Regions from separate parts of the Homo sapiens genome. Here all the other regions are linked to region 7. Evidence: promoter capture Hi-C in 16 types of primary human blood cells and fetal thymus (Javierre and others, 2016). All regions are on one chromosome and are shown on one strand. Each heading gives the region's core, a stretch centred on a gene start or on the middle of the fragment in contact. The rest is flanking DNA. Distances are from core to core; before and after follow the strand shown.

Region 1 (3,853 bases), core at 1,354-3,853, 1.2 Mb after region 7:
GAATCATTTACTCTAATTCAGATGAGAAAATGGACACTCATACAGCTAGCTATTGGCAGAACTGAAATTTAGAAGCCATATTTCCAGGCTCCCCTTCCAATGTTTTCCCCTCATCCAGTACCTCTTCTTTAAGGAATGGAGTATGGAAAAGGGAAAAGAAGCTGGAAGAATGAAGGAATGGGCAAGGAGAAGGAAGGGTGTGTAGAAGAGATATAGGAAATAATTAAACCTGTTGGATTTGGGGTTTTTGATGCTATTGAACTGTCTGGTTTTTAAAGTTTTTTTCCCCCTTATATTCTCAAGAGGTAGATATCCTTGAAATGATATCTTCATGCAAAATAGTGTTTTATTTCATCTATGACCAAAAAATAATTCAGGAGCTAGGAAACCTTAGCTCCTTAAAAGTAAAAGACTGTATTTTGGGAAAGAACATTGTTACTGGAATTTATACTGTGATGACACTGGTTGGTAGACACACTAGAAGCTTTGAGGAGTGTGTGTGTGTGTCTTTGTGTGTCTGTGTTTGTGTCTTTGTGTGTCTGTGTTTGTATATGTTTGTATATTAGTATGATATATATAGAAGTACATATTTATTTTATAAAATACTGGTAGTGTTTAATTTGTGCATACTCTTTAGGGGAGAGGGTATTGAAATATTTTTCTGGGTTGGAAAAGTTTTTGTACTTACATGCAAGGCTGCTCTAAAATCAAGCACCATATTGAAACATCACAAATATACACTAAGCAAGGGACAGATGCACAAGGAATTTAAGCAGAGTTTTTCTAAATGGCAAATAATTAGAGGGGAACAGATGCCTATGGGCAGCAAAGGATGAAATGAGGTACCAGGAATTTTAAAAGGGAGATGGAAATACAAATGTAGAATGCAGTTGCTCTCAAGGATGTTTAAGCCTAGAGGGTGTGCTTGCCCAAAGTTCACTCTTTTTGTGGGTATTGACTTAAATTTGGTTCTCTCTTCACCTGTCTTCCCCAAAGAAGTAGATGATGCTAATCATTCTGAAGTGGAACAGATTTTCTGTGGAACCTCAGTTTTGGATGATCTGTGGCTGCATCTCTTTCTTCTGCCTCCCTAGGGTCTTGTCCTTTTATAGGACTGCCAGGATATGACATTTCACAACCATGTCAGTTCTCACTTATTTATTATTTATACCCCATATCCTTCCAAAAGGGTTTTTAGGTAGCCTACCAATAAAAGACACGTATGAAAATATATGTGTGTGTGTGTGTGTATATATATATATATATATAAAATTTTTTGTCTTGGTTTGTGTTTTAGGATGGACATGTCCCTTCTTTAGAAACAAGTCTGCTGTAAAATGGGTTGTATCCATCTCAGAGCTATTCTGCGTAGTCTTGATGTGGAAAAGGAAACAAATCTCCAAGAATAAAGTAGAGCACTAGGCATTTCCCATCTTCCTGTAGAGTGGTAGTTTAAACAGCAGGGGCACTGAGCAGAGCGATTGAGCCACCCAGCAAAGCTGAGCTGTAGCACCTGATCATTATCCCTCAGGTTTAAGATTTACCTGTTGTGCTCATTGTAACAAAAGAAATGAAATCTCTGTAATTATATTGGAAGGGGGAGGAGATCGTGTTTTAGTTCCTTTGATCTTGAGCTAGAATAGGCTCTGCTTTTGGAAATTTAATTTGAAAGAGCCCAACGTACACATCTGCTTTTTGTACTGCAATTTCTATTGAGCTTGAAAATAGAAATTTATTAATGCAAATGTGTAGAGTCTGTTCCTTGAGGAAAAGATATACTCATTCAAAACACAAGGTGATCCCTTCCTACATAGCTATGGAAGATGTTAATATGTTTTCTGTTTTTTTTTTTCCTTGACTTCAGATATGAGGTTCCTTGCTAACAAGGACTAAGCATAAAAATTATAGGATCCATTGGGGAATGGAAAGATTCATTCAATACTTAAAAGTTTCCAAAGGACAAATTCATTGGTGAAGAGCTGGGGGAAGCATACTGAATCCTCAAAAGAAAAAAAAAAAGCCAAAAACAAGTGCATCATCAAACCATTCTGAAAATATGTTTGAATTGATGATAGGGCCCATGCTAAGAGACAAAGCTTTCATTTCAACGAATCCAATCTGCCTAGTGTTGTGTAAAATTGCCTTTGCCTGTAAATGGAATGGCATGCAGATTTTAGGTAGGACACTTTCTCACCCAACTTAGCCTGTACTCTATTTCATTTTTTCCACCATTACATGAAGCTTCACATAAATGACAACTTGACTTAATCCTTAAAGTGGCTGGATTGTGTGGTCTATTTTGATTAAACTTTTTCTTGTTCTTAGTGTAAATTTTCAGTAATGCCTAAAATGTCATGAGCATTTTGGGACATAAATCCTTTAAGCTATTTTGCAGTCATATAGTTGTTCTTTGGAGGGTTTGAGTGCTTTCCTAAACTCCTTCTCATCTCTAAATAGGCAAAATAAATTATAAATTGTCGAGAACATTCAATCACTCTTCGGATGAGCAGGCATCTCCTAAAGCTGGGGAAAGTATCCATTTTCAATATTTTGAGTAAATATAGTTGATTCTTTATAATATTTGTACTGTATCAAAAGATCTCAAAAACTGTTATAAATTACCTAGACTTAAGGAAGAAGACATGATTAAATAATTCATTGGATCAATAAAACCAATCTGCTTTTTTCTGATGTGGTGTGATGAAGTTTTTTTTCAAATGGGGTAGGTGGGCCTCAGTGCTGTGTATTATCCTTTTGATTCTATTGGTTACTGTCTTTCTCTGCTCCCCCCTTAGTTGTTGTTTGATATTTTTGTGCTTTTTGTTTGTTTTGTTTTAAAGAAAGGAAAGCTGCAAGCCATAGAAAGTTAGGCTGTGAGTTAGGAATTCTGAGTTTAAAGCAGGGAGCCTGTCCCTAACTTTGTGTTTAAGTTGGTGTTTCAGTTATGTTGCCAGTGTAAGCTTGTGACCCTTACAAATGTACAATTTCATTTGGGTTCAGTGATTCCTGGATGAGTTTGTGATATAGGATGCCAAAGGCTGTGGAATTTCTTTAAGACACAAAATCTTGAGACAGAGCTGATTCCTTGGAAGCTTGTGGGTAACTAGAGTCTCATGTTAACTAATCTGGAGGGGGCTAAGAAAAGTCTTCCTACCCACTTCCAATTAATTAATTTCTAACATTTCCATCTAATCATGACTTTGTCGAGTGACACACATCTTTTTTCCTCACAGGCAAGAAACTCACACACAAAATTTCTATTTCTAATGGCAGACAGTTGGGGTGCCGCAGCCAAGCAGTCACCCTTAAAAATTAATGAGCGTAATGATGGTTAGAAAAGCGATTCTGATGGTGGTTGGAGAGGGAGGGGCCATGGGGATGGCAGAAGGAGGAAGACCGGACTCCTCATAAGTGACAATGATGTGAGCCCCTGTCCTCATCTCCCCTCCCATCCCCCCTTCCGCCCAGTCACCACCCCTTCCATCCTCCTCTCTTTACAGGAGCCAAAGCAGATAGAAAGACAGGGCGATTATGAAGACGTCAGTTGGAGTGTAGGCAGGCGAGAGGGGCGCAGCGCCCCAGATGAGGTCCGGGGGGAGCTGAGGAGGGTCACTCATGGACGACCGTGTGTGTGTGTCTGACAGACTGTGAAATGGTGCGTTGTTGCACGGCTGCGCTGCACCTGGGCCCTTCATCTGTGATTGATTGGTTTGGTCATGTGTAATGGTCCCATCTGCTCTGTGTTGTTTTTCTTTTTTTACTTATAAACACCGTTCCCAGAGGCTGAGAGAGGATGAGCTATGTTTTGTCATCTTCACTTACACTTTAGCTCAAAAAAGTGGTCAAGTAGGTA
Region 2 (3,983 bases), core at 905-3,404, 1.3 Mb after region 7:
AGGACACAATGAACTATTTATTGATTTAACACAACATTCTTTTACAACACGCAATATTACATTAAATTATTTAGCAATGTGAAAAATGAAATGAAAGCTGCAAAACTTATAAAAGGAAGCAAACAGTCAGACCTGAAACATATTTATCCACAGCCATTGTGCCTAGGTAATTCAGGGCATATGGTATGTAAATGATATTTGGAGATCCTTGCCAAATCTACACACGACGGGATAAATTAAGGACAGGTTTCCCTGGGTGTGAGTCCCATGATTGTGGCCGGCACACTTCCTGCTTGAATGTGTGTGTTCTGTTCTTGTCTTTCAGCAAGAGCGTCACAGAGCATTCAGTGGCCAAATCTGGTCCTCAGCTGACTTCTAAGACATTATTTGCAATTCCCAAGAATTGATTTTATGATTAAATTTAAAACATAGTACCAATTTGCCAAACTTTCCCTTTGCTCTCACATTTGAAAAGTAAGATCTGAATAATTTGTCAGGATATGTTTAGATATTAAGCCATTTAAATGGGTATCTTTGACATTAGAAATTGAGTGCCTCTGAGCTTCTTAGTCACTGAAGAAAGGTGTTCCTGAGCAGTGACTTTTCTCTAAGCTAGGATTAAGATGTTTCCTAGAACAGACTATGAATTATTTTGAACGATTGATAATTTTGGTTCCAGGTTGGCCCAGTAATAATTTATTAATTCAACTTGACAACCCAAATTACTGGTATCACTTATTTTATTTTTGAATTATTATTTTGAAGCATATACTCTCATTTCTAGAAAGGTGAAGGCACTGACTCCTATTTAGAATAAATTTTAAGTAGGTAAGAGGTTATGCTGTTTTCTTTTTTTTTGAAAGGAATGTCTTTTCTAAGCTGGGGGTCTTAGCTCAGAGTTTTTAATGCTTTAAATTAAGGTTCATTTTTATCTTGGAATTATGCAATTGGAGATTTTGATTAGAAACTATGGCAGAATTTTTTCTCCTATAATTTATTGGACTATACCTAAAGAGTGCATTTACTGTGCACACTTAATTATAAATACAAGACTTATATGTTATTTATAAAAGTTATTTCGGGGTATTTTAAGACATGTAGAGTATGGCTTAGGATGTTTTATTGTTTTTACTATTAAGAATAATGCTTTTACTAAATAAAACTGTGTTTCTTTTATAAAAGATAATGCTCTTAATATTATGGTTTTATTTGAATTAGCAGTTTAGTCTGTGTCCCCACATTCCATTTCATTTATGGAATGCAAATAACACTAGTTACTGCATAGAAAATGAAATTAGGCTGAGTCCTTGTTCATTGCTGTGTAAATTGGGTAAAAATCAGAGAAAAAAAAATACCCTTGAGATCAATGTAAATCAATACTACTTGAGACAGATCCAGCTAAAAATTCATGAAAGGGGTCACAGTTCTGGAGGAGTTTATATAATTATCATGTAGCCTATAGTTTGTGAACTCAGGGCAAAGTTCTGAGCTGGTTGTTCTGGGACCATTCCTTGGTTCATTGAAACTACTTTGCACAGCTGTGCTTCAAACTCAACAACAGAGAGCAAAAACAATATTCACTATAAAATAAACCTCGTCCTGCCTTTCAACTTCACTGTGAACTTGCAGTCTTGAAAACAACAAAAGGGATAATCGCAATTGAGATTACAGAATCCAGATTAGATGTAATACACAGTAGGGTGGTATGGCCCAATTTTACTTACATGGGGCAAGTGGAAGTGCTGTGAATGCCAACATGTTAAGCATCATAGCCACTTATTAAGATGTTAGCTTTAAATGTCAGTCTTTGGACCCCATTTGAAATGAAGCACCTGCATTTTATTCAAAGAAATTAAGATATATTGGGGAATGCGGAGGTGAGTTGAGGGTTTTTTTTGTTTGTTTTTCTGTTTTGTTTTGTTTTTTTTTTCTGGTGGGAGAAAGTGCCATAGACAATAGAGATAAAATATCTCAAGTATTAAAAGTCTATTTTTATACACTGTATGATTCAAAATGACTGAGCAGTTTTGAAATTTTGTAGAAAGAAAGGAATATAAGGAGAATAAGAAATGATATTTGCATCTTTACAGACAACTCTGTATAGCACATTTAAGATTCTGGCAATTTCCTTACAAGTATCTGAAAATTAGGAATTATGAAGGAAACCCAGACAGATACTTAACTATAGCATTGCTACCAGGTGTCTCTTTGATATCAATGAGTTAGGAAACCTTAAGAAAAAAAGGTTAAAACATCCAGAATGATAACTTATTTTAGAATATGCTTTCAGACAAAATATTTCTTTGTTAAGAATGTTGAAAGGTTTTATTTAATTGTTCACATATATTTAGTAAATTTTTTGGTAGACTTGACCGATTAGGCTTGTTTCATAAAAGATGTGGGCTTCTGTGTATTTAGATCTTAAGTTTATTTCAAATTGGCCTTTATAAAACTTTAGTGCCTTTCTCTTAGAATTCTAGTCAACAAAATTATATTCATCAAGTGTATACATCACAGAAGTAACTGGTGATACAGAGTATAATTCCTACCATATTGTCAAATGGAGTCTATATCTCCTCAAAGGGAAAGAAACACTGACGTGAGTCAGAAGTTTTCACTCACTTGGCACTGAATCAGCTTAAAGTTCGAGGTTGAAAAATTCACAAATATTTATAGCACACCTACTAAGTGCCACGCCTCCTGGAAGGTGGACAGCAATGGCCAATGTTTCTGCCATTGGAAAGATTTGCACCGAAGTGTGTATGGCCACATGTAGTTGTACAAATCAGAGTTCATTTTGTAATGCTTTATAAGGGTCTGGTACCACTGATTCTCCTTGCAGACTAATAAACACAGAGCTTATATGACTCTTAAAAATACAGTGATAGCAAGTGCATCCTAAATTATGTAATCATGTGGTCCATGATAACAGTGTAATATATGATATACAGATGGAATCAGCCACCTGGCTTACTGTAATTGTTGTTGAGGTCCTTTGTTATGAACATATATTTCTGTTAACAATGCAACAAAATAATTTTTTAAGCTGTTTTTTTTTTTCTGTACTGCCTCAAATCTAGATAAACGGAATGTGTTGGAAAGGACAACAAATAAGAAGTTAAATATGTGGAAATGACATGGAAAGCACCTGTTTCTTCCCTTTGTTTTCTTCTACGTCATCAGGAAATAATATTTAACCATAGAATATGGTGTCCCTCTAAGAAAATGTTTATAATTGAATGTTCAAAGTAGAATATAGATTAAATAAGTAAAGATGACTTGCCAAAAAAAATTAAAGAACATTTGAAACAAACAGAAGTCTGCATCACACATAATAAGTGGCATAACAGTATCACCTCTCAAAAGTGACAATAGATGTGTCCATCTTTATGCCTTTAGCATGTTGTTGGCATTATTAGTTATTGTATTGAGAGAGTAGCCACGCTATACAAGAGAAAGGAAGGTAAATTAGATCCCTCACGCCCCCTTCTTCTGTGAATTGTATATGTTTTTGAATACACTCTCTGCCAGGACAGCAAATAAAATTTGGTTCATCCCTGATCCTCAGCAGATTATAATCTAGGTAAAGGACAGACCAGGTTCATGAAATCAAAAATAATAATTAGAACATTTGGAAACTAGGGGAACAGGTCCTCATATTGTGTGCATGTTTTATCAGTCTAAAGTAGATATAGCTCTATTGAAAATTGTTGGCTAGTAATATGCTCATTTTCCCATTTCATGAAGACTTATTCTCAAATGGAAGTTACAGCTGGCTATCGTGTTTTTCCGACAAACTCTCTTCTCTGTGGACATGATGATTTCTGTTGTTGTGGAAAGGAAGGAAATAAATCTCTTTTTGTTCCTCATTCACTCAATGAGCAAAGTGTGATTGAGCTCCTATTGTGTGCAGATTATATTGTTGGAGCACAGGACAAAGAAAGCTAAATTATCATCTTTGTTTAGAAATTTAAGATATTTGG
Region 3 (4,099 bases), core at 687-3,186, 1.3 Mb after region 7:
ACCAGTTTGAACGTTTCTGTGAGGCTAATTTCTCAGGGAAAAAATATGGATCAGTTACATCTTTGGTTAATTTTATCTAGTTCCTAATTTCTGCTAGGTCTAAGCATTTTAAATATAGTGTTGGTAAAGCATCCTTCTGTCGCTGGGTGATGGCATTATTGCAGGCAGAATTAGGAGAAAGGACATTGGCATAGGAGAAAGAGGGTTGGGGAGAAAAGTGGTCAGGAAAAAAGATCTAATAGTTGATGCAGTCTTTTAAATACCTTTCCAACTGATCTACAGGAAATTGTGCTGAAGAATCATTTGTTTCCTGTTCCACTATAAATGTGGTTTGCATTACATCCCCTGTTCGGCTTTTTTTGTTGTTGTTTTGTTTCTACTAAATTGTAGTACCACGATGGAGGCTTGAGAATAAGTGATGTCTTCCTTTATAACTTATCTTTTAATGGCTTGATCATAGTTGGATTTTAGACACTGTCATATTTCATTATATGAATTTTGTATGTGTGTGTTTCCAAGCCTACTTGAAACTTCTATTACTGCTCTGCCACTAAGAAAAACAATGCTGCAGTCTAAGTTCTTTAGAATCACTATTGTAGGTCAAATACATGGTCTACATGCTGCCATCAGGGATCTATTAAATGAATCTCTTGTTTACTCATTCAGAAAATTTAGAGATTTTAGATGTGGTTCTGGCAATTGTAAAAGTTGTTAGAATTCAGATTTACTTTTGCCTTAAGAAGAAAATACAGTGGAGACATATATTTGCTCTGCACAGCTGACCTAAATGCATGCCTTGTACCTGTGAGAATTTCAGTATGCGGACACATAAAAGATTACTGGGCCTTTTTTCCCCCTCCAATATTATCAGAGTTACAAAATAAATAATCTTTCACAGTCAACATAGTTTAAAAGTAATTTTAGTTTTAAGCTTTTTCAAGTTTTTATATGTTTAATTGCACTTTATTAGCCCTTAATACTTCAAACATAACTCTAAGATGACACAGGCTAAAGTTGTATATGATAAACATTATTGATTACTTAAAAAAAAGGGATATCTGTATATTCATAAAACATTTATAATCTATTTAGGAAATCATCATAGTCCTAAAAAAAAAGCAGTTGTTTGTATACCAGGAAAAAGAGATCAGTAGTGACAAAAGTGGAAAAGATACTTGTATAAAATTGTCTCCTTTAGTGTGAAGTGATCTACTGAAAGTTATACTTGGAATTTTCAGAAAATGTCCATAGTTGTAGGCTTTATAACATTTCAAATTCTGTAATAAACTATTTGGCACATTATCATATCATTTTAGGTATATAGATACCATGGCATTTTATTAAGCAAAACAATTTTTTTCTTCTGAAGAATACTTAAGGTGAAATTTACTGGTTTTGAGCTTGAAAGTGGTTTGAGAATTATACATGAACTCCACTTAAACTTTGGAGACTTTCCTTTTTGCAGTGCTAAAGATCCATGACTTGGTTCCAAACTACAACCTTTTATTTGCAGATGTATTTATGGCACAGTACCACATTCTGATTAGAATTTAAGAGTTCACATTTCTGATATTTCTGTCTCTAAATGCTGTGTTGCTTCTGTTTACCTAGTTTTCTTCCTATTCTTCCTAATTTCTTAAAGAAATCTGCACATATTCATTGAGGTATTTAATCCAAAAAGATTTAAAAGAGACACTACGCCTCTAACATTCTGTTTAGGAGAGTATACTACTTTAAACTCCGTTCTCCCCACCTAAAAAAGGGGGGCTAAAGAGTGGGTTTGAACACCTGAGAAGTCAGAGGTGGGAACAGTGTAGATGATGGTCTAATTTCAGGCTCAACCAAAAAAAATGCAGGCTTTGGCTGGCATCCTCCAGGGACCTAGCTCTGTGCTTTCCTAGAGACCAAATTACACTCATCTTGAGAGAGGGCATGTTGAGGTAATTGGTGGGAGAGAGTGGGGAGAGTTGAATTCCAGCTGCTTCCATTGTAGCTGTCCTGAAAATGAATAGGGGATGTTAACAATGGAGGCTAACATTTGACTTGGCTTTTTCACCTCCACAAACCTAAGGGTGAGAATTATAGAGTACTGAATGACTGCACCAATAATGATCCTGTTTAAGTGGGAATTGCTATGTTGGGAAAAACTCACACCATTTTAAAAATAGTTGATGCATTTACCAACCACAGTCCTATTACTGTAGCCCAATAAAGTTTATCCACAGTATGGAAACACTCCTTTTTTTTATTGTCAGCCATCTAGTGTGTGTATTGGATCTTCACCTCTTTGGTTACCATTTTAAAATGCTCCTACTGAAAGACATTTGGAAGGCACCAGAATCCCATCTCCAAGAAGGGAAGCAAGATACAAGTGCCCTGTACTCCCTTTCTCCTAGAATGTGTGGTCTTTTTTTTTTTTTAAGGAGAATAAATACTGTATGACTCAATAGCTTTTCTAACGAATAAAACAAATTAAATTGATGTTACATGCGTATTTAAACCCTATCCAGTTAAGTACTGATGTGATTAAAATAATCAAATGTATTACTTAAAAAATTAAAAAGGATAAATTCTGCACCCCATTATTTTATTGACTTTTAAATATAAATTGCAGAAATGTTTACATTCCTAATGGCATTATTAAGCTAAACTGACAAATCAGAGGAAAAAGTTGATTGGCCAGCACATTATTATTTCTGCACCTGTTATTACAGAAGTGGAGGCTCAGCATTAAAGGAGCTGGATGGATGCTGTTTTCTTAGGCTTCCTTTGTGTGATGTGGGGGTTGGGATAAATGTGTAACAAGTGTAGTTTCACTTTGTAGTGCCTTTTTGTGTGTTGATGTGATTAAAAGACTACAGTGTTTTTCATGTCGCTTTGAAATTAATATGCAAATAATATGGGATATTAGGGCTTCCCTCTACCTGCTGCACTAAGCTTCCCTAAGCCAAATGGGGTGGGGATTGGTGTCAACTTTTTTCATACAAGTTGTTTAGTTGCAAATATCGCCAACGTTTTATCTCTACTCTGTGAATTTGTAAGGGGGGGAGGGAAATGTCAAACTCATTGAAGTAGGATTGAAGATCTGGGATGAAAATACTTTAAATTTTTATTTTCTACTTATATATCAGCCAGGATGTTAGGAGACCTTGAAAACATTTTGAAAAAGTTGTGTAACATTACCAAGGCTTTGGTATAAGATTATACTTTTCTTCTGGTTGAGTTCTTCCTTGTATTAATCATGCAATATCATTTCTCAGACACTTGAGCCCGGCTCTCCCCTGGAGCATAGGTGGCAATAATTGTTTGTTATTATAATTCTAGAATTTCTTGGGTGTTCATTGTCCGTAATTCATTTCACACAGAGAAATCTAAACTTTCTTCAGCCAGTAGAATAAATAATGCCTTCCCTGTCCTTTCCTTTTCTTTTTTAAATTTTGAGTTCTTTAGGAATGTCATTATAGTCTTTGAAACGTAATGACATTAAATTTGGATTGAAGGGGAAGGGAGAGGAACTTTTATTTCATGCCATCCAGTGGCTAGTTTGAGTTTGCAAAGAAATAGATACAATGCCATTATTTTCTGCAAGATACTAGTTAACACTATTCTCATATCAGTTTAGACTTTGTCCTGTGTAATAATTTAAATTCCTAGATTTTAATAACACTTAATATGTAGCATGGATCCCACTTAATCTCCCCCCGGCTTCACAACAAAATGTTTACATAAATGAACTCTCAATTTTGATATCAACTATTTAACTCACTCTTTCCTGAGTTAATACTTCCATAATTAAACATGTTCCACAGTTGCCATAGGAGTGTATCTTAAAAATGATGTTCTTCTCTGTTCTTTTGAGCCATCTGTTTGCTAGGTCAGTAAAGAAATGGGAGCCTGATTTTATTTTAAAGCCAATAAGTTATTACTCTACTATTGTATTAGACATTCAGCTTCAGAGGGAGTAAAAGATAAAATTCCATCACATTTCCACTTTCTTACATTTGCAGCAGAAACTTGTATGCTCAAATTGGTTATTTTCAACTCATGACAGCTGTGATATTTAAAATGATCACAGCTGTTGTGACTTAAAATTGATTTT
Region 4 (4,044 bases), core at 1,249-3,748, 1.3 Mb after region 7:
CATTTTGTTTTATCTAAATTTAGTAAATTTTAAATTTTATTAATTCATCATATTTAAATATGTTGCACTTTTTCTAGCTTTTTATATTGTATGTTTTGTTCATTTAATTTTTATTTTTACATCTTGCAATTTAAGGCCATTATTTTTCATTGGTTACAGCTTTGGCTGCATCCCTTAGATTTTCTTATATACAGCTATCACTATCATTTATTTGTGTATTGTTTTAAATGTTATTTTGCATTCTTGTGTAGTTCAAGAGTTACTTAAAACACTGTTTTCACAGTCCCACTTTAATAAAATGTTTTTCATGTTGGCAGTGCTACTGTTTTGTTTTTACTATTTAATTTTATTGCATTCTGAGTGGGGAAATGGCATGGATATTTCCTACTTTGGGGGTAATCTAGTAGGATTTTTAAAAATGCTTAGTTTTTTTTAAGCATTTCATATGCATTTGAAAATAATGAATACTATTTCCCTATTTTATTATTATTATTATTATTTTTGAGATGGAGTCTCACTCTGTCACTCAGGTTGGAGTGTAGTGGCACGATCTCAGCTCAGTGCAACCTCCGGCTCCCGGTTTCAAGCAATCTTCCCACCTCAGCCTCCCAAGTAGCTGGGATCACAAGCATGTGCCACCAACCTGGCTACATTTTGTTTTTTTTAGTAGAGATGGAGTTTCATCATTTTGGCCAGCCTGGTCTTGAATTCCTGACCTCAACTGATCTTCCCACCTCAGCCTCCCAAACTGCTGGGATTACAGGCGTGAGCCACTGCACCCGGCCTATTTTCCCTATTTTAATATATTAAACCTTTTATTACTTATTGTCCTTCTAATTGATTTAAATTTCTGAGAGATATTTGTTCTAGTCTTCTACTTTGATTATGGATTTACCAACCGCTCAGGGTATTTATATTTTAAAAAATATATCTCAAAGCTGTATCATAAATGATTAGAAGTTCAGGAATATTTTATATTTTTGGTGGACTATAGGTTTCATCAGTATGAAATATCCAACTTTTTTCTTTTTTTACATTTTTGCCTTAGATTGGCTTTCAATGTATAGTAATGTTCTCTACATGCTTTATTTTTGTAGATTTTATATTACATATTTTTTATATATTTTTATTTTTCATAGTCTCTGTGTTTTATTTTTGATGGTTTGTTATACACAGCATTTAGCTTTACATTTTTCTAGCCTAATGTGACAGCCACTGTAACTTAGTTGAGGAATATAATATCCAAATAAACATAGTTTAATTTTCTTTTTTTCCTTGGCTTGATCACATTTCCTTTGTTTTATATTTTTTGCTGCTTAAAAAAAGGTCTTTTTTTTTCTAATGGTGCAGGAATTATACATCTTATTTCTTGTGAAAGTTATTCTTGCCTTTCTAACTCACATATTTCAAATTATATATCTCTATTAAAGTCTAAATCTGTTTGGTGTCTGTATCTTTCCTAAAAAAGATGACGGAGAGTGTTAGCACATTTTTAATTACTGAGTTTCTCCCTTTGTTCCTCCCCTTTACCTCTCATGTTGAGGTTGATATGTTTCCTTTTTGACGTTTTAAATTGCATCAACAGTCACATAGAGTCTACTAGCGTTTCCTTGCCCCATCTTGCTAATTTTTGTGGACCATGTTGTTCTGGGTTTTTTTGGGTTGATTTGTCATTATACAGTTATATATCCTTATGTAATTTTTTTCAGAAGTGTGGGGGTATAAATTTTCAGAGTCTTTGCATTTTCTAAATTGCCTGTAGTTAGCTCACCTTTTTGAAGGCAAGTTTGGCTACATATAAAATTTGAGTTTTAAAGTCTTGTATCCCCTTTTTCTGTCACATTTTTGTTCTGGCTTGCCTTGCAGCTCTAAATGTAGCACCCCAATTAATCACCCGATTATTGCATCACACTCCACTCCAGCTCCATGTATGTATTGACCCTGGGATTGGAGCATCCTAGATTTAGCTGTTTCTTTGCAGTCTTCTTGATTGGCTGCTGCTTTTTGGCTTGTGATTTATTTATTTTTCCTCTGTAGAGCAAATCCATCTACTTTTATCTTTAAGAATAATTCAAAATTGTTATTCCACCGAAGCTACTCTTCCTTATTTTCTGGCACTATTTGGCATGTATATCTCTTCTAAATTCACACACACACATACACACACACCCAGTATCATTTATGACATATGAGGTTAGAGGAAAAGTAGAAGCTTATGTTTAATCTACCATCCCAAGCCAACCCCTTTATATGGAACTTTACACATTCTAAATGCTTTCAAATACAGTACCTTATAAGGAAGGAGATGCTATTATTCTCCTTTTATAAATTAGAAAACTGAGAGGTTATAAGTCATTTTATTTATTTATTCTTTCATTTATTTCTCCATTAATCCATTGGCTAAATTTGCATCATCTGCTATGTATAAGCAGCCCTCAGTGCCAGAGACACAAAACCCCAGCTTCCAGGACCTCACAGCTGAGAGTGGAAGCAAGTGGGTAACAATAGAGACTTGTGACAATAATTTCAGCATAGGGTGGATTTCAGTTCCATGCATGTTTGAGACACGTGCTAGGTGCAGAGGAACCTGGGGAGAGGCGTCTCTATGTCAGACTTCCCAGTGGAAGTGTTGAGGAGTGTTTCCCAGCGGAAGTGTTGTCATTGATTAAAATCCATGCTGTAAATGTAGGCATGAGTTGACTGCTGTGCTCTTGGTATCTAGTAAAGTTCCTGGTCCCTGGTTGGCACTTAAAAAAAAATAAGTGAATGAACAAACAAAGCTTCCTTGGCTCTCACCGAAGCACTCCTTTTGTACTAACATATGTGATAGTCTCCACAGGCATGATTTCTTTATTTCTCCAAGCATCTCTTTGAGTAGGTACAGTGAATGTCTCCTGTCCACAAATGAAGGGGCCAAGGCTGTGGGGAGTTAAGTGTCTTGTCTAAGGAGGCTTGGATCCCAGGTTCCTCTGACTCCCGACAGGCAAGACTCCTACTGGCCCTATGGCCCCCTCATCCAGATTATTTTAGCCTCTTTTTTCAAACTCTTTCCTGCCCTCTGATCATGTTTCTACCAAGACCAAGTATCACAAACTAATGAAGAGGTATAACTGGCTGCCTCCTGGAGGAGGTATTAAGAAGCATACAGTGGCCAAAGTGGAGGAGGAATAAAAATACCTCCAGAGACCTCAATAATACCAAAATAGCTAGTCACACCATATATGTCTAAGCTTTGATACAGCCTTTCTACATGACATGTTCATTTGGAATTATATTAGACATTCAGGTTTGAATCAGGGCAGGTCACTTGAAATGTCTCAATTCAATGCAAAAGTTATAAGAAAAATAACATTTCCCCCCACACAAGTATATAGCATAGTATAAAACATTCTCAAAAACTTTGTAAAGGAAACACATTTTACAGTTTAACTCATACCTACTTCACTTCCTTCTCCCTCTCCTGTTCTCTGTTCATTATTTCCCTACTTACTAACTGGCTCTTAGTTAATATTTTCGTGGCCTCACCCCCACACCTTTTTAGTTGGTCTCTTTTTTGTGCAAATTGATTTTATTCCTATCTAAGGAGATGCTTTCATCCTTTTTTTCATGCTTTGAGGCCTCATTAGATCACTGCACTCTAATTTTGGGGGGGAGAGTTGTCATTTGCACTATATGTACAGTCTGAGCATCCTAAAGTTCTTGTTCTGAGAAAAACATCGCCATGGTGAGCGGCCCATTTTGAATTAGGAGGACTGGCTAAGGTGCTCACTTAAGCTCTTTGTAGTTTTGTTCAGTCAATTGAGTGTTTCTATGTTACATCTATCTGTCTATATGTCTGTCTATCTATCTATCTATCTATCTATCTATCTATCTATCTATCTATCTATCATCTGTCTATCTATCTACATACCTACCTACCTACCTATGTACTGAGCCCAGGCTGGAGCAGTGGTGCAATCAGAGCTTACCGTCCCCTTGACCTCCCAGACTCAAGTGATCCTCTCACCTCAGCCTCCTAAGTAGCTGGGACCACAGGTGTGCACC
Region 5 (3,652 bases), core at 992-3,491, 1.2 Mb after region 7:
AGAATGGAGAAAGGAGGAAAGAGGCTGTCCGCGCCAGCCAGTTGGTATAAGTGACAAAAATCCATGCCTGACATAGAGTAAACACAGATATTTAAGAGCTTTTGTGTTCATGAGCACAGATAGTTACTTAAGGATCCTACTCAAACATGTTATCAGCGCTCTTGAAAATTTTATTATCTGAAACAAATGTTCCAAGTGAATTTTAAGCAGAAAATCAACATCAAGACCATAGCTAATTTTTAATGGATAATTTACACAAAAGATAGTTTCTTTTCTAGAAACTGAGGTGTCCTTTTAAAATGGCTGCTTTTAGTCTTTAAAAAAAATGATAGGAATCGCGATTTTATGTTTGAGAAGGTGCGTGGGCTTTATCCACAGTGCCTGATTATTTTGCTCCCAAACAGGGGTTCTGGCTCTGAGGGCAGATTTATAGTTGAATTGGGGAACAAAAAGATGTAATAAAGTTAAAAGCTTACACTATCAGAATGAAATGTGTTTGTTCATGATCTCTGGACCGATCTATTTGATGGTAAAAGTGGATGCTACAGATGAAATCTTTACAAGGAGCATAATCCTTAAAAAAAAAAAAAAAAAAAAAAAGTCCACCTCCCAGCCTCCTGCTGGCTGTGCTGCCTCTTTGGTACCTCGCAGACTTCGACAGAGCCCTGGACGGGTGCCCATTGATGTCATGGAAACACTCAAATTACTGAGAATGATTCATGTCTATGCTGGTCTCTTATCCTCCCCCACACAAACAGGAGTAGATTTTTAACCCTGACAACTTGTAATTTGCAGTGGGTTTATTTTTGTATCTGGATAAATATTTTTTAACAAGCAAAATTAAGATTAAGCAGTCTGTATCTGATATGATAGTAAAGAATGCTGGGTTCCATGTAGCCAAGAGTACTTTGGGGACTCTGCAGCGTGAATTCATATTCTTCTCCTCCTCCTCTCCCTCCTGCCTCTTTCTTTTCCTACCTCTTGCTCTTTGCATTCCACTCTTCCTCTCTTTGTTTTTCTCCTACTTATTCTCTCTCTCCTTTTAAAATCCTGCCCTTTTATCTTTAAAATAATGGAAGGAGTAGCCCAACTTATATCTATAAGTGAGGCAAATCCTGGCAGAAAGATTCCTCCCTCCTGTTCTGTGTGTTGGAGTCAAGTTGGGAAATAATGCTGAGTGGTGAAATTCTACAGGGGATAGCTTCAGGAATTCCTTCTAGAGAAAAAAATAGATGCTTTTTCTTCCTTAAACTGTATTTTACAATTTGGATTTTTAGAAATTACCAAAACAGGACACTAGATGTTCAGTTTCTTAGGAAGTCAGAGCAGATTCTACTTTATCCATCTTTCTGTCTTTCTGCCTGCCTCCTTACCTGCCCAGCTTCCTGCCTGCCTATCTACCTGTTAAACAAGTGAATATTACATCAAAGTAAGTGATGTAATGGTGATATTGAAGCATTCTTAGATGCAAGAGCTTAAGGAAGGACACGCGTCCTTTGATAGCTCATGAAGGTCGAGCCTTTTCTGTTAGTAATATTTATAGAGAGAAGTTAAAGGGTATAAGTAGCTTAAATTTGATGTACACAGATGAGTAAATATGTCTTTGTGACCATTCACACTGCTGATACAAGTATAAATTTATCTTTTCTTCAGTGCAAAATCCTCATACAATGGAAGTTATTCTGTTAGATCTTCTAAGACTGACAGTCTGTGCGATGGTGTCTTGTTTCACTGAAATTGAAACTGATATGGGGCATTGATTTTATACTTTGCGCTGAGCGCTAGACCAGAAATGGGGCGGAGGTGTTTTCCCAACTTTAAGATTCATTAAAATCAGTAGAAAAGTTAATACTGGGAAACGGGGTTAATTTTAAGACTTAGGTTTGGCTTTCTTTGAAAACCACCATCCATTTTATATATGTAATGACTTGGATACAGGATACCCTTTTGACCACATAGAAAAATTTATGGATATAAATGTATCAAAGATACATTCTTTGTGTGGGGTCAGGAAGGCATACTCTAATAACATTGCCATTGCCATTGACCTAAAAGATAAAAAGACTACTGTTACTTTTAGCATTCGTGTTGAGTTGAGAGGGGAAAACTTGGGGGTTGTAAACTTCAGAAGGAAATCTATTCAGCCTCTCAAAATACAAGTTTAGAGTTTTCCTGTTGGAAAAAGGAATACTGTAGTCCTATGTATCAAGTACAATTACTGTAAAGCTCCAGTCTTGACGAAAGAAGTATCCTTTAGACTTGCGTGGGGTGGGGTCTTAGGCACCTGCCTGCCTCTTTTAGCCCCTTTTAATGTTCTGGTATGGACAGATTTCTACAATGATTCTCCACATGTCACTATCTGGACTCTACTGCTTAGATCTCTTGTAATGTGATTTCATTATCCTCCCTAATGATTATTGGGGTTAAACTTTAAAAAGAAACAAATGAACACCCTTGATTTTATTCTTAGATGTGGCCGAATAGCATCGAAGGGTCTATAGATCTCTGTAGAGCAGTCTACAGATAAAAATTGGGTTGTTAGAATTGGAACAAGACATTCACATTCCATGATCCCTTGTCCTGCTGGGTCTATTGGTGGAATCTGAACTTGGGTTCAGAGTAGGCAATTTTTCAAAAGCCCTGTTTCCCAAATGTAAATTCCATCATCATCTTGATCATGATGGGGTTCACTCCTGGGAAAGGGAGTTTTTAAAAAAGAGAGAGAGAGAGAGACTCAGAATTTTGAATAGTTTCTTTGCTAAATTCACCATCTGGAGAGCCTGTGATTGATTAGTTTTGGCCTCACTATTAAGTGTCAATATAATCAATGGGAATTACTAGGCTAGGGTCATTACATAGATAATTTGCCTGCTGTGTAAATAAAAATGAAATTGTTTAAATTTTGTGCAAGAGAAAGTGAAAATAAGGAGTTACGATTTGTTTGTTAGAGAAAGTGGAGGCCATTGGAATGACAGTTTTTGGAAGTGTGGAGCAGTTTGGCTAAGAATAGGAATGAAGGATATTTTTTTCCAGTTTATCATAGCCAGAGTGAGGAAGTGTTATTCCCTCTCTTGCTTGCATACATTGCCAGTAGTGCCTACTTTACGTATGTAAACATCGGGGAAGAGCAGTAGATGTCTGTTACCTGGAGGAGATTTTTTTTTAAGGAAAAACACAATTTACACTTTTTTGTCGTTTCTCTTGGCAGGTAAAACAGAAAGGGGCTCATACTCATCTTATGGGAGAGAATCAAACTTACAGGGTTGCCACCAGGTAAGTGAGAATCTCTGTTGCGGAAGGGTTGAGAGGATTAACCTGGTAAATCAGTTTGTTTTCTAAATTAGATGATGCATTTTAAACTGTGACACCAAAGATGCACCGGCAAGTCAGATGATGGCTCTCTCTTTAAGTAATGAAATAACACAGAGCTTAGAACTAATAAACACCTCATCTTTAGATCGCTGCTGTATCAGAACTACATTCATGGGCTTGTTTTTATTTTTTAATCCATCAGCCGGTACCAGTGGCACTGTTTGCAAACCAGCAATGTCGGTGAAAGTGGTTCTATTAAAAGAGTTTATTTGCAATTAAGAACTTAAGAATTTCTTACGCAGGAAATACTTCGCGGAGTCATGTGTCAGACCCTGGGTTT
Region 6 (3,952 bases), core at 1,123-3,622, 1.3 Mb after region 7:
ATCGCATATAACACATTTCTTATTTTTGTATATCTAGTTGGTTAACTGTAACTAGTTTTGATCTTACCTATAGTTGAATTAACAGTAGCAGTTTGCTCATGCGTGCAAAAGCAAAATTAAAGGAGCCACTGAACTCATCCTTGTGGCATTTCCAGGAACATGGCCACTTAAATTTAATTATGAAGATTGTTGGGCAATTTCTTTATTAAATATGGAAAAAACCTAGTCATTTCTTGTTGCCAGTGTAGCTCTAGGCCATAAGGCTATCATCTTTGTTATGTAGACTCCCATATATAACTCATTTTTAACTTTTTATAGTAACTTTTCCAAATTATTATCACAGCTTGTACTTTTTAATCTGAAAATAGAGAATCTAATGATCACTCATAACTTTTGGTGCATCTTTTCAATAATAATCAGTGGATTGTAATATGGGACTGTTTTGTGTGGGACATAAGAAAGAGGTAAGCTCTGTGCTGGACCCTGGCTCTGCGGAACATTTTACATATGTTGTTTCATCTATTCCTGATAACCCTATGATAGAGCTCTTATTAGTCCCTTTTTACACGGGAAGAAAGTATGGTTTAGAGCAGTTGCATAACTCACCCCCAAATACATTGTCTGTATTTCTTTGAGCTAAGGTTCAACCAGATTGGTCTGACCTTAAAGCCCTCCCTCTTTCCTTAATAGATTTGACTTCTACTTCTGACTTGTTACAGACACAATGTGCATGATATGTTTAATGTAGAAATAAAAAACACTGACAAAAAACCTTTAAAAATGTTTGCTAAATAATAATTTCAGTAATTTGTATTTCTCTGCAGCACAGCAGTTTTTTAAGTCCCTGATTTGCAAGATATCTTGGTCTTTGTAAGTTACCCAAGTCCTCTTTTGTTGAAACCAAGCATAGGACAGAAATAAAAATAAATTATAAAGGTGTACTCTTGGACCTTCAGGAATCAGGAAAGAAGACTGTCCAAAGACTGACCTTCAATTTTGAGCTTTGAAGTTCAAAAGTGGACAGGTGGAAATACTGTGTTCTTCATTGCCCTTTGGTGCGAGATATATTCTAGGTTGCAGAGTAAGTGCCAACAGCAGCAAAATTATCGCCCCCCTCCTGCTACTGTAGTAAGTCAGCAATGGCCCTTCTGTGGTCAGAATGGCACATTCAGCAGCAACTATTCGACAGGGATTTACAGAAACTTCCCCATGGCTGTTAGGAATCTTATTCAGCAGTGTCTTTGAAAACCCGATTCTGTGCAGAATTAGCTATGTAGAAATGACCTAGGTTGTGATAAAAGGTATTTTAAACAAATCTAACTTGTAATTTCACTCAATGTGTATTTTGCATTTAATGCCACAAAGTCTGGTAGATACCTACACATATATTTTGCATTCATAAGTTTTATAGTGGTTCAGAATTTTTTTCCATATTAACATTTTAAAAAATCCTGGCTTTATAGAGTCAGTTCACCATACAAAGCCACTATACATCACTTAGGTTTGTGATGAAAGAATGGAATTGCAGCTGTGTGAGTACTAGAATACCCAAACATGAATTAGACTCACAAGCATTTGGCAATAGTTCAGAAAAAGAGCTTAATCTGGTTTCATCTGAGACTGCTTTTCTCTGTTCTGCAACATCCCCCCAAGATGTTGTGTCTGATACCGGATCACAACGTAATGGGAGTGACGCAGAATCGAGAAAGCCCTGAGAAACCAGGGGCACATTTGCTTTTCTCCAGAGATTTTCTTTCTCCTACTTCTTTTTTCCCCTCTTCCAGTTTCCAACTCTGAAATTCAAGGTCATTCACCTATTAGATGCATTAATTATAAGCCAAAAAAGCAGTATTCATCGTACTCTGATCTCAGTCATATCTATAATTAAGTGTAAATATAATCTTCCTTTTTAGAAATGTACCACCCACCCATTACATTTAAAGTGCTGACTGAAATGAAATAATAGTTCAGAGCAAGATGATTTTAGTTTAACTAGAAAAAAGTTGATAATTTAAGCTTCAAGCAGTGAGTTCTATTTTTGATTACCATTCAGTTATAAATCTAATTTGAGATATATGCTGCTTTTCTGTTACTCAAGTTTAATTCATGGTTTGCTTTCTTGGTTGTATAAGCAAAGTTCAGTGGTTGATCAAGGCTGTTAAGAAGCTCCCCTGAAAAGGAATGGGGGCAGGGTTGAGAATGTGTTCGAAAGACATTCTGAGACCTATATCTGATGTAAAACAAACAAATCCGATGTAAAACAAACAACAAAATTTTAATTGAAAAAGACACTCACAGAGTGCTGTATTTGGGGATTTGAATGGCCAAGTTAGGAATGGCCATTTGCAGGGGAATTGGCTGCAGAGGGTGAACCCCAAAACATTCCAACCTGGTTGATAAAGTCAGTGTGTTTTATTCTTTGGTTACAGTATTTTAGGTCTTTTGGGAAAAAAAATTAGGAGCGAGTAAGGGGAAGGGCTTGTCTCATCACACTGTGGACAGTTAAGCAAAATGCTAAACTATGGGTTTAAGATTTACAGGTTAGCTCTGCCAGATGCCACATCTGCCTCCAGTGTTTCCTGGCAGATTCGGGCAGCCTACTACTGGGACCCAGCATAACCGCAGAACATGAGCTTGCACAATGTGAAAAACCTAAAACCATTATAATCCTATTTAAGGCCAGGATGAATTTGCCCATTTTGAAAGTAGATGTAGTTTTCAAGCTTAACTTTTATTAAGCAGAAACTTGTCTTCAGAGCTATATCTATATATGCAGGTAAATTCATAATATAAACAAATACCTTATCCATTTTGTGCAAAATTTAATTTACTTTAAATCAAACGCCATTCACTTTTTAAAATTCATAAACTCAGGTTTTTCAGCCAGTGGAAAATTTATCTTTCTCATTGCTACAGAGAGTTAAGTATCTGACGTAAAGGCCAGACAATAGTAAATGGTCATTGTTCGCTTTATAAGTATACTCTACAATAAGAACACATATATTTTTATCTTCATTTTCCCTAAGGAGGTGTTTAGGGCCCCCTTAAATGTGAGGAAATGTTTATTTTTGTTGCTTTAGAAGAATGATTCTATTGTCCAAGTGAGAAAGAAATAGGAACAAACAGGTCTAAGGAGAAAGAAACAGGAATGTGCTTTGTGAAAAAAATAAAGATTAACAGGAACCACTAAAGGTTTGTAAGTGCTATCTGGTCCTAGTGCTATGTTACTGCACATAGTCCTTGCGCCTGCATATGTAAGAGTTGGATGCGTGATTTATTATGACTGGCCCATGAAATTATTTTCTTTTAAGTTAACAACAATAAGGTCAACCACAGCCTGTAGCTGTTTTGTAGTTATTTTATATTTTTCACAGCTCTATTGTGAATGCTGCTAAAAGACAGTATAGCAAGTGTGTGTTTTTAGGTTGACCCCTTGAATGCATTTAATTTCTTGAGAGTGAAAACCTTTGCCACCAGGACCAAGAGGAATTAACCAATGGTTAAACTCATTTAAAAACACAAGCAAGCATTTCAACATATTTGCTTAGCCGTTTTCTGAATATTTAATATACTTCTAGAGAAAGAAAAATGAAGAAATAGGGGTGATTTGTGTCTAGAATACAAAGTTATTTTCAAACTCCTCTTTCCAATGAAATGAAGACTCATTCGTAGATTTACCAAACTGTAAGGAGGTTGTGATTTCAAATCATTCACAGCTTTATTGATGGAAATTTCAAAGAAAACTTGGACACAGACTTCACTGTAACTTTCTTTGTTAATAAGAAATGCGAAGAGTGAAATTTAGGTTGAGATTCAAAAACTTTTGAATGCCACTCCTAAATGATAAATTATTTGTTACTAGATTTCTGATTTATGCAAAACTTTATTATAATAAGCCTTATGTTTTAGTTTGTCATTGTGTAGTGTTTTAATATGTCTCATAAGTTCAAAA
Region 7 (3,742 bases), core at 355-2,854:
AAAACGGAACATATATCAAAGATAAAAGGAAACTGTAAGATACAAGGGTCACTACCCCTAAAATTTAAGTTAAATTCTTACAGGGATATTCAAACCAAGCCAAGCCCAGTCCCTTTGATTCACCCAGTCACCGAGATCTTTTAAAATTTAGTTACAGGTGGCAATAAGAAAAAATAAAGGGCATACTCTCATTTTTCTCTTAAAGTATTTCTCTGAAACACTCTTAAAATAAGGATTGGCAGTAAAATAAATGAATTTTCTACCATAATCCCTAATTGACATTAATAATAAAGCATTAATTATATTTATAGTGGTTCGTTTTCCCAATTTATAATAACTAATATGTATTGTTCTGGATGGAACTAGACAGTTTTTTATTCTTTGTAATAATGAGGGCATTTCAACACATTATGTTCACTTTTAAGCTGACCTTCATACAGCCACGAGTTTGTTTATAAAGCAAGAAGCAGAGTCAAACTAAAATTTTTGTTTTACAAAATGTCAAAAACTCAGTTAATTTCTTTCATACAACAGGCAATTCCTGCAACCTTGCCCATAAAATCCTAAGACATAAACACCTGAAAGAGTCAGTTTGCCTTTTTTTGTCTCATGGCAAATATTACAGTGAGAGGAAGCTATAGCTGCCACTGACCGAACCCTAAATTCAGCAGCATCAACAATATCAATGCAGCCTGTCATGCGACGGTAGGTTCCCTAGTTTCAGACTATCTAACCCAGCAAATTCTGCCTCAAAAAGTGACATACTAAGTGGGTAAAAAACATAAAACAGCAATTTTTGAATCAAAGTTAGGGTAGTGCTGACTTCAAACATAGCTTCAGAACGCTGGGACCCATCACTAAGTGAATGGGAGTGACTGGCATCCGCTCAGACAAGTACTAGGGCAAAGGGATAAGAACTGGCAGATGGCATCTCAAAAATGAAATTCTAACAGTGGTGTCAGTACCTTGGGCATGGGCAAAAATAGTACCAACAGGAAAGGAAAGACTATATGAACCCCAAAAGCAAGCACATCGCCCAAAATTGCTGTCAATAACCACCAACGATCATCACCAATCACCTGATCCCGTTTAGATTGCACCTGGGAACCAGGCAGTCCCACCTCAAGACCAAAGCAACTGTCACAAGTAGCAAATATCACTCACCAGGCAAGGGAGCCACAAAGACCCCCGGCTGGCCCCCACGCTCTTGGTAACGGCGCCTACTTTTGGGCCCGACCTGCAGGCTTGCAGCCGCAGCGATCTGACAGCTAGCACCGCCCCCGGCTAGAGCGGGTTTGTGACCTTTGACCCCTGACCCCTGACCTCCACGGTGCAGGAACATCCCGCCCTGTGGTTTCCCATGGAGAAGCTTGAAAGCCCCCTTACCTGTCACAGCTTCATCTCATGCCGCGATGTAGCCTATCAGACCGCCGGTGGGCGCCCCAGCCAAGGAGGACAAGGATAGGGCGGAACTACGGAGGATGCGGGGTGCGTAGATCCTGCTGGGATAATCCGTGGGGCGGCAAGCGCTATACAGCCGCCGTCTCCCCAGTGATACTGCAAGGTGCCGGTGCCGCCGCCGCCGCCACTGCAGTAAATCAGCTGACACCAGCCCCAACTGCCGTGACTTTCGCTGCAACTGTCGCAAAAATGAGGGGGCGGGAAAGACTCACCATTTCCCTACTTGCAAGGCCTAAGCCGGCGCCGAGAGAGCCAGCCGCGTTACGATGGAGACCGAAAGTGGAGAAAAGGCCAGCTGTGGGCAAGGAGTGCACGGCCGCCATCTTGGTTGTGGGAAGTCTCGTCTAGGCTGTCCTCTCTCCAGTTGGGAGGACCAAGATGGAGCGAAGGATGAAGTAGCAAGTGCACGTCTTTCTTGGGAGCAGGATGTTGCGCAAGTTTACACTTCTGACCCCATCACACTGCTTCCCACTGAGATGCAAGAGGTAGGGAATTCCCTAAACACTGGAAAGTATGTTGGATGCTGGAAAGCTAAAAAGAATGACAAATGTCCCCCAAGATAGATAAGCTATAGTATAGTGCAGGATGAGAAATGCCAAATAAGGAGCAAGGAAGAAAAGAGATGAATTATTTCTAGGTTGGGGTAAGGAAGGATAATCACATTAGGTCATATGGAAGTCTAGAAAAATTGGTCAGATTTGGAATAATAATTGGGAAAGGAAAACAACTTTGTCACCAGCATTGAAATGTAAAACATGAATATATGCAATAAATAGAAAGTTAAATTTGGAAGAAATACAAGGGACGTGAAGTAGGTGAAGTGGGAAAATGTGGTATCAGGGCTTAGCTGTTTCTGCTCCGTGAGCGGCTCCTTTAACAGGCAGTCTATGCCCTGGAGCTCTCTTGTGGGTTGATAGAGACTTCATCACATTCGGCCTAGACCAGGTAATAAAAAAGTAACATGGAAAAATAGAATAATGTAGATAACAAGAGGCTTTTAGTGGCCATATAAGCTTTTTGGTCTTTATTCCAAAGACAATGAAAAGTAATTGAAGACTTTTGACTAATAAATAGTGTAGCACTTTTCCTAACCACATGGTATTCAGGTTTTTAAAATTGCTTTACAACAAATTATCACAGTCTTAGTGTCTTAGTGGCTTAAAGCAACACATATGTATTGCCTCACATTCCATGGGCAAGGAGGTCAGGAACAGGTTAGCTGAGTCCTGTGCTCATGCTCTCACAAGGCTACAAGTGGATGTCAGCCAAACTGCAATTCTCATCTGGAGGCTCAACTAGGGAAGAATCTGATTCCAAACTCCTGTCAGCTCATTCAGTTCCTTGTGGCTGTCTGACTAGGGGCCCTGGCTTCTTACTGGCTCTGAACTGGAAGTGGCCATCAGGTCCTAGCAGCCACCCACAGTTCCTTACCACATGGGCCTTACTAAAGGCTCTCTCGCAACATGGCAGCATACTCCTTCAAAGCTAGCAAGGAGAATCTCTCTACTGAGCACAAGAAAGGAGTCACACAGATATAGATACAGCCATGGATATGGACATGGACATAGATATGGAAATGGATGTAGATGATAACCTAAATTAGGGAGTGACAGCCATCACCTTTGCCATATATTATTGGTTAAAGTAAGTCACGGGTTTTATCTGTACTCAAGGAGAAAGGATTATACAAGAGTGTGACTTATCGGGGTCACTTAAGATGGGCCAGCCACAAATATTAATTTGGCAGCAATGTGCCATGTAAATCAGGTGGGAAATACAGGGAAGCAAGGAGACAAGTGAGATGTCGTCATTGTTGTTGTAACCAAAAATGTATGGTTATCACTGCAAAAGAATCATAAATGAGACCCACAGGATAAAATCGGGAATTTCACCATTTTAGAGGCATATATATATATATTTTTTGAGATGGAGTCTTGCCCTGTCACCCAGGCTGGAGTACAATGGCACCATCTCAGCTCACTGCAACATCCACCTCCTGGGTTCACGCAATCCTCCTTCCTCGGCCTCCCGAGTAGCTGGGATTGCAGGTGCACACCATCACACCTGGCTAATTTTTTTTATTTTTAGTAGAGATGGGGTTTCACTCTATTGGCCAGACTGGTCCCGAACTCCTGGCCTCAAGATTGGCCTGTCTCGGCCTCCCAAAGTGTTGGGATTACAGGCGTGAGCCACCACACCCAGCTTTAGTGGCATTTTTAAAACTTAAGTACTACTCTGTCCTTAAAATTTAGTAGCAGGCTGGGCACAGTGGCTCACGCCT

Evidence for each region. The method cuts DNA at HindIII sites, captures the fragments that hold promoters and counts their contacts. A CHiCAGO score of 5 or more calls a contact.
Region 1: a fragment that was not itself captured here is called in contact with the fragment with the promoter of WDR7 in region 7 in 1 of 17 cell types (monocytes); the score reaches 11.7 in monocytes.
Region 2: a fragment that was not itself captured here is called in contact with the fragment with the promoter of WDR7 in region 7 in 4 of 17 cell types (monocytes, M1 macrophages, M0 macrophages and 1 more); the score reaches 18.1 in monocytes.
Region 3: a contact is called between a fragment that was not itself captured here and the fragment with the promoter of WDR7 in region 7, in 3 of 17 cell types (monocytes, fetal thymus and total B cells). The highest score is 8.8, in monocytes.
Region 4: a fragment that was not itself captured here is called in contact with the fragment with the promoter of WDR7 in region 7 in 2 of 17 cell types (naive B cells and M2 macrophages); the score reaches 8.7 in naive B cells.
Region 5: a contact is called between a fragment that was not itself captured here and the fragment with the promoter of WDR7 in region 7, in 1 of 17 cell types (erythroblasts). The highest score is 5.6, in erythroblasts.
Region 6: a contact is called between a fragment that was not itself captured here and the fragment with the promoter of WDR7 in region 7, in 2 of 17 cell types (naive B cells and M0 macrophages). The highest score is 5.8, in naive B cells.

The regions. Positions count from the first base shown.
Region 1 is chr18:55,423,516-55,427,368 of GRCh38, reverse strand. The region is part of intron 5 of TCF4 (transcription factor 4); the gene reads left to right. Among named protein-coding and RNA genes, the nearest start is that of TCF4-AS1, 27 kb to the left of the region's middle. RefSeq lists an enhancer at 3,521-3,853. The HindIII fragment of the contact is 719 bases long and covers 2,244-2,962 here.
Region 2 is chr18:55,331,397-55,335,379 of GRCh38, reverse strand. The region is part of intron 8 of TCF4 (transcription factor 4); the gene reads left to right. Among named protein-coding and RNA genes, the nearest start is that of TCF4-AS1, 120 kb to the left of the region's middle. The HindIII fragment of the contact is 8,028 bases long and covers 1-3,983 here.
Region 3 is chr18:55,312,890-55,316,988 of GRCh38, reverse strand. The region is part of intron 8 of TCF4 (transcription factor 4); the gene reads left to right. Among named protein-coding and RNA genes, the nearest start is that of TCF4-AS1, 140 kb to the left of the region's middle. The HindIII fragment of the contact is 2,006 bases long and covers 934-2,939 here.
Region 4 is chr18:55,370,272-55,374,315 of GRCh38, reverse strand. The region is part of intron 6 of TCF4 (transcription factor 4); the gene reads left to right. Among named protein-coding and RNA genes, the nearest start is that of TCF4-AS1, 80 kb to the left of the region's middle. The HindIII fragment of the contact is 568 bases long and covers 2,215-2,782 here.
Region 5 is chr18:55,403,075-55,406,726 of GRCh38, reverse strand. It overlaps TCF4 (transcription factor 4), which reads left to right. Exons shown (of 20, transcript NM_001083962.2): 6 at 3,209-3,273. Among named protein-coding and RNA genes, the nearest start is that of TCF4-AS1, 48 kb to the left of the region's middle. The HindIII fragment of the contact is 3,535 bases long and covers 474-3,652 here.
Region 6 is chr18:55,352,649-55,356,600 of GRCh38, reverse strand. All of the region lies in intron 6 of TCF4 (transcription factor 4), which reads left to right. Among named protein-coding and RNA genes, the nearest start is that of TCF4-AS1, 98 kb to the left of the region's middle. RefSeq lists an enhancer at 3,788-3,952. The HindIII fragment of the contact is 707 bases long and covers 2,019-2,725 here.
Region 7 is chr18:56,649,221-56,652,962 of GRCh38, reverse strand. It overlaps WDR7 (WD repeat domain 7), which reads right to left and starts at 1,604. Exons shown (of 28, transcript NM_015285.3): 1 at 1,387-1,604. RefSeq lists an enhancer at 1,484-1,873. The HindIII fragment of the contact is 1,105 bases long and covers 1,372-2,476 here.